6 separate regions of the Homo sapiens genome follow, and regions 1, 2, 3, 4 and 6 are each linked to region 5. Evidence: promoter capture Hi-C in 16 types of primary human blood cells and fetal thymus (Javierre and others, 2016). All regions are on one chromosome and are shown on one strand. Each heading gives the region's core, a stretch centred on a gene start or on the middle of the fragment in contact. The rest is flanking DNA. Distances are from core to core; before and after follow the strand shown. Region 1 overlaps NUDCD3 (NudC domain containing 3). Region 2 overlaps NPC1L1 (NPC1 like intracellular cholesterol transporter 1). Region 3 overlaps DDX56 (DEAD-box helicase 56). Region 4 overlaps NUDCD3 (NudC domain containing 3). Region 5 holds the start of POLM (DNA polymerase mu). Region 6 overlaps NUDCD3 (NudC domain containing 3).

Region 1 (3,263 bases), core at 178-2,677, 360 kb after region 5:
GACTACCCAGGCTCTCCCTCTGCTCCACCTCCACCTGTTCTCCCTCTCCTCCAACTCACTGGTTTCCTTTGGCTGACCCTTCCTGCTGCCTGCCCCTTACACTCCAAAGAACACAGTGCTATCTCTATATCTTCCGCACATGCACCCCTGAACTGCAACAGCTGCCTGGTATGTATCCTTTCTACATCCCCTACCTTGTCCACCCTGACTGACTGCTGCCTATTAACTTTCTGACAAATCTGAGCAAACACTCTTGAGTTAGATAAGTTGCCCCAGTTTCTAAAGATAAGCCCCAATTCTTTAGCATGAATCAGGGTCTTGGCAGGGCAGAGACATGCACAGTGTGGTCCCTGCCAGCCCCATCCCTGTTCACTCCCTTCCCCTAGGAACACAGGAATATCAGCATCCCTTTAATGGTATCATTTCTTTGCACAGGTTCCTCCCTCTGACCAGGTGCTTGCCCCTTCTCAACTGCTGACCTCCAATGTCATCTGCCTCACAAGGTCTCTGCAGGTTGCTCCACATCCGCAATGACTGTTTTTGGTCTTTTTCCTGTTTGTTTTGTTTTTGGAGGGGAGGAGGGGTGGGTTGTGTGTGTGCACACAGGTGTGCACAGTGGAAGGTGTATCTAGACAGAAATGAACACAACACAAACAGTCACACACACTGCATGGAAATCCGTTACGACAACTTTCAGCTGATGTAAAGCTCTATGAAGCAATGAGTTCTCTAATGAGAAAGTGAAAAACCAAGGCAAAGAGGTTTTACGTGTCTGATTTGATTAATGCAAGGTACATCTTTCAAGAATTCCAGATAAAGGAGAACCGAAACCAGTACTTAAGGACACAGACTCTGGAGTCAAAAATCCCTGCCCAGCCACTAGTTGGTGATACAACCTTGTGTCTCTAAGCCTCCGCTTTGCTCATCAGTAAAGTCAGGGAAACAACACTTCCATTGCAGAAGTAGTGCAGAGCTCAGGTAAGACAACCTATTAGCTGTAGCTGACATTACTGCACACTTACCTATGGGTCTATGCCAGTCCAAACATTATCCCCAATTGACACATGAGGCTGGACTATTCAAGTCCTATAGACATCCTTAGCCAAGCCTGTGACCTCTGGGTGTCACAGTTCTCAGCCAGAGAGCCTGTGTGTAGTCATACTCTCATGAGGACAAAATGGGCTTTCCTTGTGACCATCTTAGGGTCTTGGTCAAAGAGTTGCTGTTTTCATTACCTGAGACCCAGCTCAACTTGGAAGGGAATGGCCACCCCAGAGAGCAGTAAGTACAACAATCAGTGACAAAGCATCATGGGAGCATTCAAGTCAGCTAGCTGAAATCTCTGCAAACAGTACTTTTCCGTTCTCATTAGTTACAAGCTGCCAGGAAATTTTAGCTGTGAACAGAATGAAGACAGGCTGGAGAAACAGTCCTACTATTTATAAAGCCTTGGTGTTAGCCAATTTGATCCTCTTCTGCATATAAATGGGCCAAGATCCTCCAGGCACGCCTGCTCTGAGGGTGGCTGGATGGCTGGCAGGGATGCCCCAAAACCTAGGCCCCAGGCTGGCCAACCAGGTCCTTCCAATGCCCAGGGTGTGACCATGCTTTGTTAGTTTACATCTGACATTTGGGTAGGGGGCTGTCTGCGTATCTCACTTCAAGCCATAATAGTCACTTCTTATTGCCTCCCTTAAAAAGTGTTTCAAAGGAGTATTTTTGACTAATGTGTAAATTAGCAATCCCCATACTATTACCCTTTTAACTGGCAGAACTAGATACTCCATCAAACATGATTATATGATTTGACTGAAAATCCAAAAAATAAGTAAGTAAAACAATGCCTCAGAAATCCAGCCCAGTTTCTGGCAATGTTCATTACATTCATTTGAGAATTCTCTGTAGTGAATTATATAAAAGTTTTTTGGTAAGTACAGCCACAATGAAACAAATGTCAGAAAGTCATTTCTCACAGAGAACATTTACTTGGGCTGCCAAGGAAAAGCAATTAGTTCTTGCCTTAGAAGAGCCTTAACCAAGAGATGCTTCGCCATGAGGCCATTTCATTCCCTAGGGGCAGGCCTGGTAGGAGAAGAAGACCTGATACCTATCTGTTAACGCACTTATTGAAGTCCCATCTCAGCATGGGATGGTCCGTGCAAGTTTGACAGCCACAACGTTCACCTGACAAAACCAAAAGTCTCCAGAGGAAGACAATAAAAATAATTCTTTAAGTGACGAGCCTGAGTAGCCTGCCCCAGGCCAACAAACACTGTAACGAAGGTCTTCTGTAGAAAGTTTCCGTATGTTTCCCATCTACTATGGTTTGAATGTGTCTCCTCCAAAATTCAGGTGTGGAAACTTAATGGCCAATGTGACGGTATTAAGAAGTGATTAGGTTATGAGGGCTCCTCCCCTATGACTAGATTAAGGCATTTATTAAACAGGCTTCACGCAGCATCCAGCTCTCTTCCCCTTCTGTCCCTGTCACCACGTGAGGACACAGCATTCCACCCCTCCAAAGGACACAGCATCAGGCCCATCTTAGAAGCAGAGAGCCCTCACTTGACAACTGAACCTGCCAGAGCCTTGATCTTGGATTTTCCAGCCTCCAGAACTGTAGGAAAATAAAATTTTGTATAAACACCTGCTCTCAAGTATTCTGTTACAGCAGCCCAAATGAACTGAAACACCATCCTTGCATTAGCCTTCCTCAAAGCCATGGATCTTAGGTGATATCAAGTTCACATGAAGACAAGAGACATATGACATCAATTAGAAGGGAATAAGAAAAAGGGACAGGCCATCAGCAAGGGGCACCTCTGTCTGGCCACACAGGATTGCACACAGAATTGACCACACCCTTGGAAATTGTCATCTCTGGGAAATGGAGGCTCCCAGAGGCTAAAGGAATGGTCTATAGTCACATACCCTAAGTGGCTGAGCCAAATTCTGGCCTCACCCCAGTTCTTCAGGCTGTAATGCACCTGTCAGGCCGCCGCCTGCACCCACCACACTTGGTAGCTGAACATAGGCTTCCCCACAGAGTACTCAGCTTCCTGATACTCACTGGCATGACTGTAGTCTACTCCCATGTGCCTTCAGCCTCCACTCTCCTTGGCCTTAATAGGCTTCTCTCATTTCCTTTGCTGCACGGCTGCCTGCCTGTCCCAATTTCAACAGTCTAGGAGGCAGAAGGTGAAATTAATTCCTGGTCTGTGCAGCACACAGTGAACACGAACAGTGGCAAGTCCTCTAAGAGC
Region 2 (3,257 bases), core at 98-2,597, 430 kb after region 5:
AGGTGTCAGGCAGGGCACAGGGCATCAGGCAGGGCACAGGGCATCAGGCAGGGCACAGGGTGTCGAGTGGGGCACAGGGTGGCCCACTCCTCTCCACTCACCGCACTTCCCATAGAGATGGTGGCCTCTTTGGCCCTCTCCAGCCAGGTGGGCTTGGTGCTGATGGCAAAGGAGCGGGTAATGTGGGACACAAACTCCACAGACATGCCCACCGCCTATGGGCAGAGAGGGGGCATAAGCCAAGAAAGGCAGAGGTGGGGAAGGAACTAGGGAGATGAGGCCTCCACCAGGACCAGCGTGGGGCAGGCATCTAGATTCTAGACAGAACTGGGAGTATTTGGCCGGGTGCAGTGGCTCATGCCTATAATCCCAACACTTTGGGAGGCCGAGGTGAGAGGATCACTTGAGCCCAGGAGTTTGAGACCAGCCTGGGCAACAAAGTGAGACCCTGTCTCTACAACAAAAATTAAAATATTAGCTGGACGCAGTGGCACGTGCCTGTAGTCCTGGCTACTTTGGAGGCTGAGGTAGGAGGATCGCTTGAGCCCAAGGGTTCGAGGCTACAGTGAGCTGTGATCATGTCACTGCCCTCAAGCCTGAGCAACAGAGCAAGACCCTGCCTCTAAAAAAAGAAACAAAAAAGAACTAGGAGTATTCTATGAGGCTGGATCCCCAACCACCCCTCCAGAGGCCCCCTGGTGCCTGTGTCTGCTGGGTTACCGAGACCAGGTTGATGAGGGACACAGCATTGTAACTGATGCCCCACAGGGCCATGAAGCCGACAGTGTCCACGAGGATCATGACAATGGAGAGCAGGTTGAGGAGGCCGGAGCGCAGGTCCAGGCCCAGCAGGAGGCAGGAGACAGCGAAGGTGGGCACAAGGCAGAGGCTGAGCATGAAGAGCCCCTCAGGGAGGATGGTCAGGTACTGCTCATAAAACACATTGGTGATCCTGCCAGAGCACAGAGCATGGTCACAGGCTCAGGCCTCTGGGGCCCTCATGGTGGGTGGGACACCCCACTTCAGAAGGAGAATGCTGAGGGTCAGGCAGGCTTATATTGGGGTACAAACCAGCCTAAGAAATAGGCCCAAGGCTGCAGCCAGAGCCTCCTGACCTAAAACTGGTCCTCATCTCATGCAACTCCTTGCAAGCCCTCCACCCTAACCTCCAGTCTCCAGCAACCATACCCCACCTCCCTCCAGCCCAGCCACTCAGGTCCTCACGTGTAGGGGAAGACCTCAAAAGCCGGGTCTGTTCCAGGCACTTTCCGCAGGTCAGCAGTGATGTTGGCTGCCAGCTCTCGAGCTGCCCGCAGAGCTTCTGTGTAATCCTGTGAGTTTTTCAGGGGCTTGTGATAGGCCATGAACCTGGAGGCTGGACAGCCATGGCACACAGAAGATGGAAGGGCAAAGGTCAGAGCCCTTTCCAGGACAACTTCAGAACACCGCAGACGCAGTGGCACAGGCATGTGATCAAGCGGGGTTCAGGGCTCTGCCACCACCATTTGAAATTCTTAGTAAATTTTGTGCAAGAGGCCCATATTTTTGTTTTGCACCAGCCCTGCAAACTCCATAGCTGGCCCCACTGCTGTGGGAGACCCAGGCCTGACCTTTGATGAGTGAAGCCTACAGAGATCTCCCTAGTGAACCGAGATTCTTCTCTGTATGGTTTCAAGATATGCATTGGATTTTTAAAATTAACTTAATTGGTTTTTAATTTGCATATTCCTATAGGAAAGGACTAGAAAGGAAGACAGAAAAATGAGAACGGTTGGATTATTAGAGCTGTGGCTTAGGGCTCCTGCCAGATAAAGGTTATTTCTTAATGACTTTTAAGAAATTAAGGTTATTGGCCGGGTGTGGTGGCTCATGCCTGTAATCCCAGCACTTTGGAAGGCTAAGGCAGGTCGATCACCTGAGGTCAGGAGTTCAAGACCAGCCTGCCCAACATGGTGAAACCCTGTCTCTACTAAAAATGCAAAAATTAGCCAGGCGTGGTGGCACACCCCTGTAATCCCAGCTACTTGGGGGGCTGAGGCAGGAGAATTCTTGAACTCAGGAGGCAGAGGCTGCAGTGAGCTGAGATCATGCTACTGCACTCCAGCTGGGCAACAGAGCAAGATCCCATCTCAAAAAAAAAAAAGAAGAAATTAAGGTTATTAAGACCTTTATACAATAAAGGGTTTTTTGTTCTTGTTTTTGTTTTCGAGACAGAGTCTCACTGTCACCGCAGCTGGAGTGCAGTGGTGCGATCTTGGCTCACTGCAACTTCTGCTTCCCGGGTTCAAGTGATTGTCCTGCCTCAGCCTCCCAAGTAGCTGGGATTACAGGTGCATGCCACCATGCCTGGCTAATTTTTGTATTTTTAGTAGAGACAGGGTTTCACCATGTTGGCCAGGCTGGTCTCAAACTCCTGACCTCAAGTGATTCGCCGGCCTCGGTCTCCCAAACTGCTGGGATTACAGGTGTGAGCCACCGCACCTGGCCCAAAAAGGTTGTTTCTTGGCGACACTCTGCCTCTATTAATAATACAAAAATTAGCTGAGCATAGTGGCATGTGCCTGTAATCCCAGCTACTAGGGAGGCTGAGGCAGGAGAATTACTTGAATCCAGGAGGTAGAGGTTGCAGTGAGCCGAGATTGTGCCACTGTACTCCAGCCTGGGTGACAGAATGGCAACTGTGTCTCAAAAAAAAAAAAAAAGTTATTTCTTTATTGTGTACAGTGAGCATGTGTATCTGAAAAAGAAACAATAGTGCTACATAGGTGTGGAGAAAAAAGAAGAGAAATGTTCTTGGATACATACAATCTCAGAGCAGGGGAGGTGCCTGGAGAACTTCCCACCAGGCCTCTGACCACCTGGAGGGTAGTTCACACACAAATGCCCAGCCCAGCCCAGCAATTCGGGGTCTGCAAAGTCTTGGGTGAGGGCTGAGAACTTGCGTTTCTTCTTTTTCTTTCTTTCTTTCTTTTTCTTCCTTCCTTCCTTCCTTCTTTCTTTCTTTCTCTTTCTCTCTCTTTCTCTCTCTCTCTTTCTCCCTTTCTTTCTTTTCTTTTCTTTTCTTTCCTTTTCTTCTCTCTTCTTTTCTTTCAATATCTGGCTTTTTTGCCCAGGCTGGTCTCAGACAGACTAGACTCCTGGGCTCAAGTGATCCTCCCACCTTGGCCTCCCAACGTACTGGGATTATAGGCGTGAGCTGCAGCACCTAGCTGGAACTTCATTTTGAACAATTTCCAGGTTATGCTGATGCTGCTGGC
Region 3 (2,906 bases), core at 117-2,616, 480 kb after region 5:
GGGCAGCTCGGCACAGCTGACCTCTGCTGGCCAAGTGAAGCACTGCATGCAGCCACAGAGCCAGGCACAGCTGTCTTCCGAAGTTTCCCGACTCCTGATGTTTTGGGGATTCAAATAGTCCTTTTCATATGCTGGAGGCACAAACTGGGGCAGCTAAAATTTTTATTCTGTTGTCAAGGGGCAAGATGCCAGCTTGGAAGTGCCAAGGAGCTAAAGGGCCCAGCACTGCCGGCCCCAGAACTGTCTGTTCAGGCTGTGCAGTAAGCACCAGAGCCTCGCCTGTCCACGAAGGGTGTAAGCCTGTGCTCCACAATGTGCTCAGCTCCAGAGAGGCCCAACAACCTCAGGAGGGCTTGGCTGTGGGTCTGAATTTCTTTCCTTTGTGCTTGAAGCTGCGCAGTGGGTTCTGGGACTTTGCTCTCTAAGGAGGCAAAGTCACAGGTTAGTTGGGGGAATCAGGCCGACAGACAATCCACCCACCCACCCACCCAACTGAGAAAGACACAAAGGGAGCCGTGCCGGCAACTGGCCAACACGACCAGAAGGTGCTGCAGATAAGGAAATGGGGAAAGGCAGCTGGGGAAAGAAAAGCAGGGCCTGCAGGCGGCTGCAAAAGTACCCCTATCCCACACCAGATTTTTGGGGCCCGGTTCTAGGGTGCCCCCTCTTCCCCTCCCTAGGGCACCCTCTCTTCCCCTCCCTAGGGCAAGGCGCCTCCACATTCTGGTGATGACAAAAGAGCAGGTTGGGAGGAGTCCTGGGGCTGTCCGCAGTCCCCAGGAGCCGTACCTTGGCCTTCCTACAAGAGGAAGACAGCTTCTTCCGCTTCTTGTGAGGGCGCACCAGGCCACGGAGAGCAGGAGGAACTGGAAGAGATGCTTGCCTGAGCAGTGGGCTCACCGCTACTGCTCCCATCCCTGCCCTCCCGCTGATTCTGCAGCAAATTCTCCAATTCTGACCCAACTGGCAGCCTATGACATACATCTATTCACTACCACATCTGCACAGGGCCAGGAGAATGTGAGCACCTTAGACTTCCACTATTTAAATCACTCTCCTATATTGTTTAGATTTGTTACAACAAACATGTAACAAGAAAGAAAAAGACAGACATCCTTAAAGAAAGAAAATGCAGCTGAAATAAAAGTCAACAGGTAGTTTCTTCACCTGTGGCCCATTACTACCGATACAGGGGGCCCCGCATCCCAGCTGCACCTGATCTTGGCTCTATCTTCACCTCGCCCACCCCATGGACTCCCCCAGGCCAACCACACCTGGGCCCTCCCCTTCAAATGTCAAACATCCCACATCCTGACACCTTTCCACCTTCTCCTGGCCCTTCTAAACCTCCTGGCCACACCTTGGCAAATGACTCCGCTATACGAGCAGACTGGGTTCCTGAGGCCAAAGTTCTAGCCTTACCTTCTCCCTCCCTACCCACCCTCCCAACTCCCCTCCTCACATCTCAGGCCAGGACCTGGACTGGGGTCTCCTCCAGCTCACTGTCCCATGGGAACCCGGCCCCCACCGCTCTCTCTGGCATTTTCATGTTCCCATCTCTTCTGGATCCTTCCTTTCCCAGTGCCCAGGCTTTTCCTGCCCTGGAACATTCCATCTCCACCCTTTGTCACCTCCATAGCAGCAACACCACACCCGCTGGGTGGCTGCAGGTCCAGGCTGAGCAGACCCTGTGGCATTGGGAAGGGTCCTGCACTTGCTGCCCACAGCCTCCTCTCCACCACTCTCCTCCTTCAATCCATTTTAGGCATAAAAGTCACACATACTCATTACCAAAAACACCTCCTATGAGACACTGAAAGAAGTCATTACCCAGAGCCTGCCAAAGATGAGGAGAGGTGCCCAGTATTAATGGCCACATAAAGCTCTAGCCTGGGCTGCACTACAGAAACCAATCCCAGGGTCCTGACCTCATGCCTGCCAACCCCTGCATCCCTCGCACCACCACTGGCTCTTCTCTTGCTACCTTGTCGGTTTAGGCCTTACAGAGTCTGTCTCCCTGCTGACTGTTCTTACCCAGAGACTCCACAGATGCCTCTTCAGCAGCTGCTAATCTTGAGTCTTTTGCAGCACAGGTGGCTCTCTCTGCCTCCTGCCCGTGACTCTCTCCCAAACCTGTTCACTCCCTTCGACCCATGGATGGCCATTTGGCCCAGCTCTGGAGACGACCTGGCCTGAAATGCTGGGTCTGCCACCCACCCTGCACTACCTCAATTTCCTCATCTCTAAAATGGAGACAGCAACAGCTAACCCGTGGGACCAAGCAAACAAGTTTAGAAACACAGGGGTGTGCCTGTTTACATGCCCGCGTGCTGCCAGGGTCTCCAGGTTCTATTCTGCCTGAGCATCCCCAGCACCAAGCACAGGGGCTGACCCAGCAGTGGAGAAATTAATGCCACTTCCCCAGCCTGCTGCCTCCTGCCCTGTCAGGCCACACTCACCCAGGTAGTCAGGAACATGGCCCAGGTGGGGCTTCACCACTGCGGGGTGCAAAGGTAGGTCATGCCGCAGCAGCTGGAGGTCCCTAGGGTTGTCTTCAAAGTATGTCTGCCGGGGGAAGAGGGAGAGCCACAGAGTGAGCATCTTTCTTCTGTGACTTCACAGACCTAGCTTTTCAAAGGATAACACACTCATGTGTTTCAAAAGGCATGAGGCAGCTGCTTCTGTGCATTTCTCAGAACCTCCCGGGAGTGGATGTTTCCATTTTCCCTTCTCCATGACACACATGGCAGTACCCTGTACCCCTTTTTGCTGGGCATCATCTTACAGACTGTTCCATATGGACACGCAACCAACCTCATTCCTTCCCATGTAACCTTCGGCTCTGAATGCACCTGAGTTTACCTAGCAAGCCCCCTATGGTGGCCCCAGGCTGTTTCCATCTTTTG
Region 4 (2,868 bases), core at 275-2,774, 330 kb after region 5:
TGAGAAACTCCAGGAGAGGCAAAGCTCTGATAATGCCTGCATCAAGCTACAGCTGGAGAGTAGAGGATCTGGCTCTCCTGTGAAGCTCTATCCACAGCCCCAACACAAACACTGGGCTGCCTAAGCAAAGCCCCTGAATCACCAACCCAGAACAGATTCTGATTTTATCAGTTGAGTTGTTGCAGCCGGGGTTACCATCGTGACAATGTCCCATAGGTGCCACAGACAAAAAACAAAAATAAACACTGCTGACAGGCAACCGTGACAGGTAGACTTAGGGAATAACTGGCCAGGCCAGAAAGAAAGTACAGCTCTGAAGAAAAACACTTAGACAAGCAAAATCCAAGAGATACAAAATAAACTTTTTCCAAAGTTTTAAGTGAGGTACGACTAAAAAAAAAATCATTCAGCAATTAAGAGACCAAGAATTTTTATTTTTACTTTATTTTATTTATTTTTTGAGATAGGGTCTTACTCTGTTGCCCAAGGTGGAGTGCAGTGGCACAATCACAGTTCGCAGAAGCCTTGACCTCCTGGGCTCAGGTAATCCTCCCACCTCTGCCTCCCAAGTAGCTAGGACTACAGCAGCGTGCCACCATCCCCAGCTAAATTTTTTTTGTGCTGTTTTGTAGAGATGGGCTTTCACCATGATGCCCAGGCTGGTCTCAAATTCCTGGGCTCAAGCAATCTGCCCACCTCAGCCTCCCAAAGTGCTGGGATTACAGGCTTGAGCCACCATGCCAAGCCAAGAATTTTTAAAAGAGGTCTGCAGTTAGGAAGTCGGAGGTTGCAGTGAGCCAAGATGGCGCCACCGCACTCTAGCCTGGGTGACACAGCGAGACTCCAAATCAAAAAAAAATAAAAAATAAAAAAAATAAGAGGTCTGCAGTGTTGTAAGAATGACATGGGGAAAAAAAATACTATTGAAGGAGAAAAAAGTTTTTCCAACCCCATAGGAGATGAAGCATGCCACCAAGGCAGGTCACCAGTACAAATTAGGTCAGCGAGCATCACAAAAGGCCTATTGTCACATAGATATACCGTGTTAATAAATAAATAAGGCAAGCCACTATTAAATAAGCCACTGAAAAAAGAAGTCCCTTCCTTCCATCCTTCTATCCTGATACTTATAACCAAACTTCACCTTCGACCCTTCTCTGAGGTGAGAGAGAGCACTAGCTCCAGAGCAAGCCTTGATTGTGACCTGGCTCTTATTGGCTGAGACCATGCACACACAGCTCTCAGTAGCCCTCATGGGTGCACAGCGACTGCCTGCATGATAGGAGGACTGGGGGGGACAACTCACTATTTCAAGACACAGAGAGGGCACCACACGAGTGCTGGTTAAATACACAAACCACCCACTTTTAGGTTCTATACGGCACCTGCCTCCATCTTGCTCATTTATTTACTGACTTTTACTGCTGTACCCCACTGGGATATAAGCTCCAAACCAGCAATCTTGTCTGTCTTGGTGACTCCCACATGCCCAGTTCCTGGGACAAAGCACAGCCCACACGTTTAGAAAACGTCTAATGTAGAATGAGCCAAATCCAGGGTTATCCTTGGTGATAGTAGAGCCACATCATCTTAGAGGTCATGATAAGTGCATTTGAGAGAGGTGTAAATCTGAACTTCAGACAAGACATCAGGGCAGGACCCTCATAACACGGTGCCGACCACAGGGAAGAATCATGGCATCAACATCCCAGATAGTCAACAAGCATATCTGAGACACCATTTCCAGTGGGGAGTTGTCCCAGGTAGCTGTGCAAAGTATGGTGAAAGCTGTTAGCTAACCTGGGTCTCTTGAGTCAAAAAAAGAGAAAATAACCAGTTTTAGCTTGGGCCTAATACAAACCCTTTCAGAGAAAGCCCCAGGGGTTCATAGAGCAGTTCAGAAGACAGATAAAGGACCAGGAAACTGTAAATTTTTTTTAGCCAAGTGAATGAAGCATGGCAATCGATGCTTTTCCTAATTTATTCAACTACATACACGGCAATACTAACAAAAAATGAAATGGAAATCAACACCTAACCCACTAAAACCCCAAAATTCTGGATAAACTACTTGGGAAGAGCTATTAGCTCCTGCTCCTGGCCTATTAAAAACAGACAGGAAGTAGTCATTTGAAAATAGAATTCCGTGTGGATGATCCCTAGTGATCTGGTCTGACTTTGATCTTAAAATTATACTGAAGTCTATGATTCTAGAGGTCACCAGTTGCTGGTAAGAGATATACTGGGGATGTGGGGTGGGAAGAAGGGAAAATTGAGCACACAGCTACTTGCTGCCGAAGCCAGGCCACCAGCAACTCACTGATCTGTGCCTGTGGTACCTTAAAGGCACAGGGCACTTGCAAAAGTCTCAGTCTTCTTAGGGATGCCATGGACCCCACCCAAACTCCTACACACAGGGCAGGTTTAGGACATGTCTACCTATTTCAAGTGGCCCCTGGAGAATGAAGGAGAGACTGCAGAGGGAGTGGTCATGGAGTCGGAAGGCACAGGACAGGAGGGCCAGAGGGACTCAGCTCCAGGCCAGCCTGGACTTCACACCTACCCAGCCGAGGCAGGAATGGGACTAAGCCTAGTCACCTTACTGTCACCATGTGGGATGCAAGGTGCAAGCCAAGTTGCCCCCACCATACAGAGAGGTTCATTTCCTATAAATGCACATGAGACGTGTTCCAGGACAGTCTCTCCTTCTAAGAAGCCAGCACCACTTGTATGTATAGAGTAAGGAGGGTGGCACAGAGGGAAAAGCATAAGGTTTAGAAGCAGACACACCTGACTCAAACCACAGCTTTGCTACTTCATTCATGCAGCTATTCATTCATTCAAAAACTTATCCAGAGTGCTCACTGT
Region 5 (3,228 bases), core at 1-2,500:
CTGCCTGCCACATACTTGTTTGGCTCTTGGGCAAGCCACGTGTCTATACTTTGATTTCCTCTTCTGTAAAGCAGAGATAACATATCCACCCTGTGGGGTTGTTGTACAAAGATAGTGCCTTGTACACTCTAAGCTGCTATCATCCTCTCCTGAGTGGGTCTGGCGCACTACTGATCCCTGGTAATGTTAAAAAATCAAACACAACTGTGGGGGAATACTAGCCCCAGGTTCGTTTGCTCTCTCAACCTCCAAACTAGGGGGCACCCCCAGCTCCCTTACTCTGGGTGTTGTCTCTGTAGCCGCCATTTTTTCTTCTCTTGGTTCCCTTCCTACAAGAGCTTCTCAGTCGTGTTATTTACTCAGGCCTGAGGACAGAGGAGCCTGCGGGCTCCGGGCCTCTTGAGAAGTCAGTCTCGCTCACAGGTGGGACATAGCCCAGGCAGAAGGGCTGTTAGCAAATACGACTTTTTTTTTTTTTTTTTTTGAGACAGAGTCTCACTCTGTCGCCCAGGCTGGAGTGCAGTGGCGCGATCTCGGCTCACTGCAAGCTCCGCCTCCCAGGTTCATGCCATTCTCCTGCCTCAGCCTCCCGAGTAGCTGGGACTACAGGTGCCCGCCACCACCTCCGGTTAATTTTTTGTATTTTTAGTAGAGACGGGGTTTCACCGTGTTAGCCAGGATGGTCTCGATCTCCTGACCTCGTGATCTGCCCGCCTCGGCCTCCCAAAGTGCTGGGATTACAGGCGTGAGCCACCGCGCCCGGCCTACTGCTTATTAATTACCCCTGACCTCTGGTTTTGATTCTCGCAGTGATCCTTTAAAACACGCCTCGCCCTAATTAATAGCACCCTTTACAGAAGAGGAGATGGAGGCTCAGGGAAAGGTCACAAGACCACGAAGTGCCACTGCAAACTTAGAATCCAAAACCAGAAGTGCCATGGAAGCCCTCGCCGCGCCGCGCCGCCCCGCACCTGCAGGCGTCAAGGACGCGGAAGCCTTTGGAGCGCGCCAGGCCTGTGAGGAAGGCCCGGCGGCTGCGACCCATGCGAGGCTCGACCAGGTAGATGGCGACTCCCGGGAAGCGCGTCGAGGGCGGCGTGGAGGAAGCGGCATCGCCGCTAGGGGACCCGACCCGCGCTCGCCGCCGTTTGGGGAGCATTGGGACGACAGCCTCCAGCAGCGCGGAGCGAACGCAGAGGGAAACTCCGAGCGAGACGGAAGGAAGCCCCAGTGAGGCTGACGGAAGCGGGTGGGCGGGCGGGCGGCCGCCGGCTGGAAGAGGACGTGGCCCCGCCCTATGCAAATGAGGCCTCTCCGTGGGGCTCGCTACTTGGGCCAGTCGGAGCGCTGGGGAGGGTCCGGGCTCCTACAGGATTGGGTGTCCCGGCCGCTCCGGAAGACCCGCCTCCATGCAAATAACGGCAGAGGACCCGCCTTTTATTTAAATTAATGTCTCGGAAAGCGCTGTTCGGCCCCATTGGCCTCCGGGAGGAGAGGCTGGGCTGGAGCGGGGCGGGGAGGGTGTTGGAGGGGGTGGAGGAGGCGGGGTCAAGGGGGCGTCCCCGGCTAGGGAGGGTGAACTGGGACCTAGGCCCGGGCGGAGCGGGGTGGGCTGTGTCCTTGGCGCCGGGGCTGGGTCTAGGGTTGAGCCGGCGGCTCGGGGCGGACGCGTGCGGGCTGTGCCCGATCCCTCTGCGCTCGGGACTGTCACACGGAAGCCGGCGGGCGCAGGACCGACACGCGGGTTTCCAATGCGCTGGTGGGGCGGTCGCTTCAAACACGCGGGAAGATTTTTCAGTCGAATGGCATTAGGACAACTGGCAGGCCATTTGGAAAAATAGAAGTTGGTGCCCTTCCTCATTCCTTAACACCAAAATAAATTCCAGATGGGTCAAACATTTCCATCTAAAAAGGAAACCAACAACGTACTGGAAAAAAGTCGGTGAATGTTTTTATGATCTAAATATCACAATAAACTTGGAAACACTAAAGGAAAAGAATGATAAACTGGACTACAGACAAATTTTAAATCTGATTAAAAATTAGAGTCAGAAGATAAACTGGGATAAAGTGTGAGATATTTTGGAATTAAGATTATCTCATGATAATCTTATCAAATTGTCCATAGATAAAAAGACAATAATTTAATAGAAAAATTAGCAAAAAAACTCACGTAGATGATTCTTAGAAGAAATCCTGGTCAATAAATTTATGACCAGAGTGCCCAACCTGTCCAGTCGTTACAGAATACCTAAATGAGAATATCTTCAGTTGTGGGTTTATCAAACATTCAAAAAAATTGACCACACATGTTGAAGGTGCGAGGTAATTGGCAATCCATAGGAAGGACTGTGGAAGCCAATGTGGCAACCACATCCAACAAAATGAAAACAAAATAATACACATTGATCCAGCAATTCCTTTCCCAAGATTGGGATTGCATTGAATCTATAGATCAAGCTGGGGAAATCTGATGTCTTGATAATATCAAGTCTTCTGTCTATCTTATTTAGATATACTCCATTTGTAACCTCTGTTACGGTAGTGTGGCACTGCTCAGCCTAACTGATGGGACACCAGATCAGATGCAACCCCCTTCCACATGCCTCTCCTCATCACTGCCCCATCGTCCTCAGTCTTGAGCCCCAGACTCCTTGAGCACCTATCCTTTTTCTTTGGCTCCTCTCTGACATCTTTAGTGGGCTGGCTCTTCCCCATCTCTGCACTCAGAGCACAGGGCTGAGGGGAGTGGGGGAGATGGCTCAGCCCAGGCATCCTCTTGACCTCCTACACCATCTCCCAGCCTCCTAATTCATCTACCTCTTCAGGGCTGTAGAGCTTCCTGGGCCTCAGGACCCACATACAGAAGCCAGGAGGCCTGCGTATGGTCCCTCTCTCCCCATCCTCCCCTTGTGCCAGCAGGGATGGGCAGGCTCTAAGGGTCTTCGTCTGTGGATCTGGCTCCTACCCTTCTCAAGGAGGAGGCTCTGCCCAAATATCCCCTGAGCAGATCCCTCTAGCTGTCTAAAACCATTTCTGTTCCTTTTAATGTCCTCTGTCTGGCCAGAGCACCTGGGCTCCCCTTGGAGCCCTTGTTCTCTCCTGGGAAGGCAGAGGCAGTTTTTAAGACTATGAGACCTGAATACTTAAAACACTGGGCAACTGTGCAAAAATGTTTGTGCAAGGAATCTCATCCAAATGACAGTGGAAGAAACTGCCTAGCTTAGA
Region 6 (2,961 bases), core at 257-2,756, 400 kb after region 5:
CTAGTATTACATAAACACTGAGGCTCAAATGGCACTTTTTCACTTTTTACAAAGTCTTTACTATGAACAATTCTTTTTTTTTTTTTTTTTTTTTTTTTAGATGGAGTCTCGCTCTGCTCTGTCGCCCAGGCTGGAGTGCAGTGGCACAATCTCAACTCACTGCAACCTCCACCTCCCGGGTTCATGCAATTCTGCTGCCTCAGCCTCCTGTGTAGCTGAGATTACAGGCACGCACCACCACACCTGGTTAATTTTTTGTATTTTTATAGAGACAGAGTTTCACCATGTTGGTGAGGCTTGTCTCAAACTCCTGACTTCAAATGATCAGCCGGCCTCGGCCTCTAACAGTGCTGAGATTACAGGCATGAGCCACCACACCCAGCCTGAACAACTATTAAAATTGTAAAGCATCCTTACAGAATATAAGCACATTCTCTGATGCTATCTTGTGCAAATAGGGAAATATCTGTGTGCAAATTCTCTCTCTTCTCTGAGGAATAAGATGGGTTATTTACTTTGGGCCGGGCGCGGTGGCTCACGCCTGTAATTCCAGCACTTTGGGAGACCGAGATGGGTGGATCACCCAAGGTCAGGAGTTTCAGACCAGTATGGCCAACATGGTGAAACCCTGTCTCTACTAAAAAAATACAAAAATTAGCCAGGCATGGTGGCAGGCACCTGCACTCCCAGCTACTTGCAAGGCTAAGGCAGGAGAATCGCTTGAACCTGGGAGGTGGAAGTTGCAGTAAGCCGAGATCATGCCATTGCACTCCAGCCTGGGCAACAAGAGCAAAACTCCGTCTAAAAAAAGAAAAAGATAGGTTCCTTTAAGCCCTGGGGTGGGGGCATTTCTGATCTTCATTTGACATGCCCTGGCAGCAACAGTAGGGCAGAAACAAGAATGAAATTCAGACCAATTGTAGGTTATTAGTCAGGGAGATGCTAAAATCAGAGTGATGGTAAAATTAGGTCAAAATAAAATTTCCCCCAAATCACCCCAAAAATACTATAAATGAAACCTGTACATTATTATGTATAAATAACAATGTATGCTGCAACAGCTTTAGGGCAGAACACAGGCACAAGGTTGCCAGGATCTGGGAGTCTGGCACCAATGGAAATGTCATTGTATTAGTCCATTCTCATGCTGCTATAAGGACATACCCAAGATGGGGTAATTTATAAAGAAAAGAGGTTTAATTGACTCGCAGTTCAGCATGGCTGGGGAGGCCTCAGAAAACTTACAATCATGACAGAAGGGGAAGTAAACACATCCTTCTTCACATACCAGCAGGAAGACGTGCCAAGCAAAGCGGGAAAAGTCCCTTATAAAACCGTCTATGAGAACTCACTATCACGAGAACCACATGGATATAACTGCCCCCATGATTCACTGCCTCCCACCGGGTCCCTCCCATGACATGTGAGGATTATGGGAACTGCAATTCAAGATGAGATTTGGGTGGGGACACAGCCAAACCATACTGGTCATCTATCTTGACTGTGGTGGTTACAAGACTACATTTGTCCAAAGTCATAAACTGTATTCTAAAAGGAATGAATTGTATTGTTACATAAATTATACTTTACTAAAACACAAAACAATTGTCTGTATACAGTAATGAACACCTTACAACAAAAATGCATATATAGAGGCAGGAGGAGTACTTGAGCCCAGAAGTTCGAGTTCAGCCTGAAAAACACAGCAAGATCCTGTCTCTAAAAAAATAAAATTCAAAATACATATATACAAAATATAAATACATTATTTTTAATCTTGTTTCTTTCTTTCCCAGCACTTACACTGAATTTATTTAAATTAAATAAGCATGTGATGTGACTTTACTGTAGTATACAAAAAGGGAGTTTTTGCCTAATACTGGTTAGAACCGAAAAACATGTCAAGTAAGAGTCATCAGATATCAGCAATCTAAGACTTAGATTCTCAGATTTTAGACAGAGTGCTCACAAAAGATGGTGCTTCTGTGTGGTCTTCTACAGAATAACTACCTTAAATTACTCAATTAAAAGAACTGCAGATCTATAATTTATAGGATAAACCATCCTGAACACTGGTGGGAGGACTTGGGGTGCAGCTAAAGGTAGAACAAGGAAAAGGATGGTCTTTCACATTCTATTTTCAAATCTGCTAAAACACTACATTTCAGGTATAACTAGAGATCGGTGCCACAACTTCCTGTTTTGTTCAAGGAAAACAAGTAACTGAAGCTGAGAATGTTCCAGTCCTTGGAAAGGTTTGATTAGGATTCTTGCGGTACCAGTCTATTCTGAACAAAGAGCTACCAAGTAGAAAGGTTAGCTTTCCTGAAACATATCCAAGTCTTCACTCTATACTTATTTTTAAGGTAGAACTCACAAAACTAACTCTAATTCTAACCCAGAACAAAATTCACTGGTTCAAGAATTTTAAAATAGGGTCTCTACAAAACAACAAAGTAGCTATTCTAGTCTATTACTCAGAAATCAAAACCAATACCCTCCTTTCATTTTTTAGAGATCATAAAAGGAATACAAAAAAATTAATAAAACAAAATAAATGGTCATTACAGAAAAATTAGAAAATATAGTAAGGGACAAAGATAAAAATGAAGAACACTCACAATTCCACCACTCTGTGATTACTACTACTATTTTCTTCCAGCTTTTTTTCTACATACATAATTTTTAAAGTTTTCAAATTTGATATTAGACTATATAGTTTGAATTCTCCCCTTCTCACTTAACATTATATCATGAAAATATCTGTATAAGTCAAGGTTCCACCAAAGAAACAGAAGCAGCAGATATAGTCAGCCCTCGCTATCCATGGGTTCCATAGCCCAAATCAAAATATTCCCAAAAAATATTTACCAAAATATTTGCTGAGGATCAAAAATATTCCCAAAAAATGGCCAGGCATGGTGCCTCACACCTATAATCCCAGCACTTTACGAGGCTGAG

What was found. The method cuts DNA at HindIII sites, captures the fragments that hold promoters and counts their contacts. A CHiCAGO score of 5 or more calls a contact.
Region 1: a contact is called between a fragment that was not itself captured here and the fragment with the promoter of POLM in region 5, in 1 of 17 cell types (M0 macrophages). The highest score is 5.1, in M0 macrophages.
Region 2: a fragment that was not itself captured here is called in contact with the fragment with the promoter of POLM in region 5 in 2 of 17 cell types (M2 macrophages and M0 macrophages); the score reaches 5.5 in M2 macrophages.
Region 3: a contact is called between a fragment that was not itself captured here and the fragment with the promoter of POLM in region 5, in 16 of 17 cell types (M1 macrophages, M0 macrophages, naive CD4 T cells and 13 more). The highest score is 13.3, in M1 macrophages.
Region 4: a fragment that was not itself captured here is called in contact with the fragment with the promoter of POLM in region 5 in 1 of 17 cell types (M1 macrophages); the score reaches 5.8 in M1 macrophages.
Region 6: a contact is called between a fragment that was not itself captured here and the fragment with the promoter of POLM in region 5, in 15 of 17 cell types (total B cells, neutrophils, M1 macrophages and 12 more). The highest score is 12.9, in total B cells.

Annotation. Positions count from the first base shown.
Region 1 is chr7:44,445,043-44,448,305 of GRCh38, forward strand. All of the region lies in intron 2 of NUDCD3 (NudC domain containing 3), which reads right to left. Among named protein-coding and RNA genes, the nearest start is that of NUDCD3, 44 kb to the right of the region's middle. The HindIII fragment of the contact is 4,100 bases long and covers 1-3,263 here.
Region 2 is chr7:44,515,983-44,519,239 of GRCh38, forward strand. NPC1L1 (NPC1 like intracellular cholesterol transporter 1) reads right to left here. Exons shown (of 19, transcript NM_001101648.2): 15 at 1,225-1,375; 16 at 721-952; 17 at 102-215. Among named protein-coding and RNA genes, the nearest start is that of NPC1L1, 24 kb to the right of the region's middle. The HindIII fragment of the contact is 7,058 bases long and covers 1-3,257 here.
Region 3 is chr7:44,565,659-44,568,564 of GRCh38, forward strand. DDX56 (DEAD-box helicase 56) reads right to left here. Exons shown (of 14, transcript NM_019082.4): 12 at 2,460-2,565; 13 at 790-866; 14 at 146-421. The coding sequence ends at 344. Among named protein-coding and RNA genes, the nearest start is that of DDX56, 6.8 kb to the right of the region's middle. RefSeq lists a silencer at 1-152 and an enhancer at 6-505. The HindIII fragment of the contact is 3,764 bases long and covers 1-2,906 here.
Region 4 is chr7:44,415,642-44,418,509 of GRCh38, forward strand. The region is part of intron 3 of NUDCD3 (NudC domain containing 3); the gene reads right to left. Among named protein-coding and RNA genes, the nearest start is that of NUDCD3, 74 kb to the right of the region's middle. The HindIII fragment of the contact is 3,443 bases long and covers 1-2,868 here.
Region 5 is chr7:44,081,280-44,084,507 of GRCh38, forward strand. It overlaps POLM (DNA polymerase mu), which reads right to left and starts at 1,251. Exons shown (of 11, transcript NM_013284.4): 1 at 972-1,251. The coding sequence starts at 1,159. RefSeq lists an enhancer at 1,025-1,525 and a silencer at 1,237-1,816. The HindIII fragment of the contact is 8,170 bases long and covers 1-3,228 here.
Region 6 is chr7:44,477,750-44,480,710 of GRCh38, forward strand. The region is part of intron 2 of NUDCD3 (NudC domain containing 3); the gene reads right to left. Among named protein-coding and RNA genes, the nearest start is that of NUDCD3, 11 kb to the right of the region's middle. The HindIII fragment of the contact is 6,664 bases long and covers 1-2,961 here.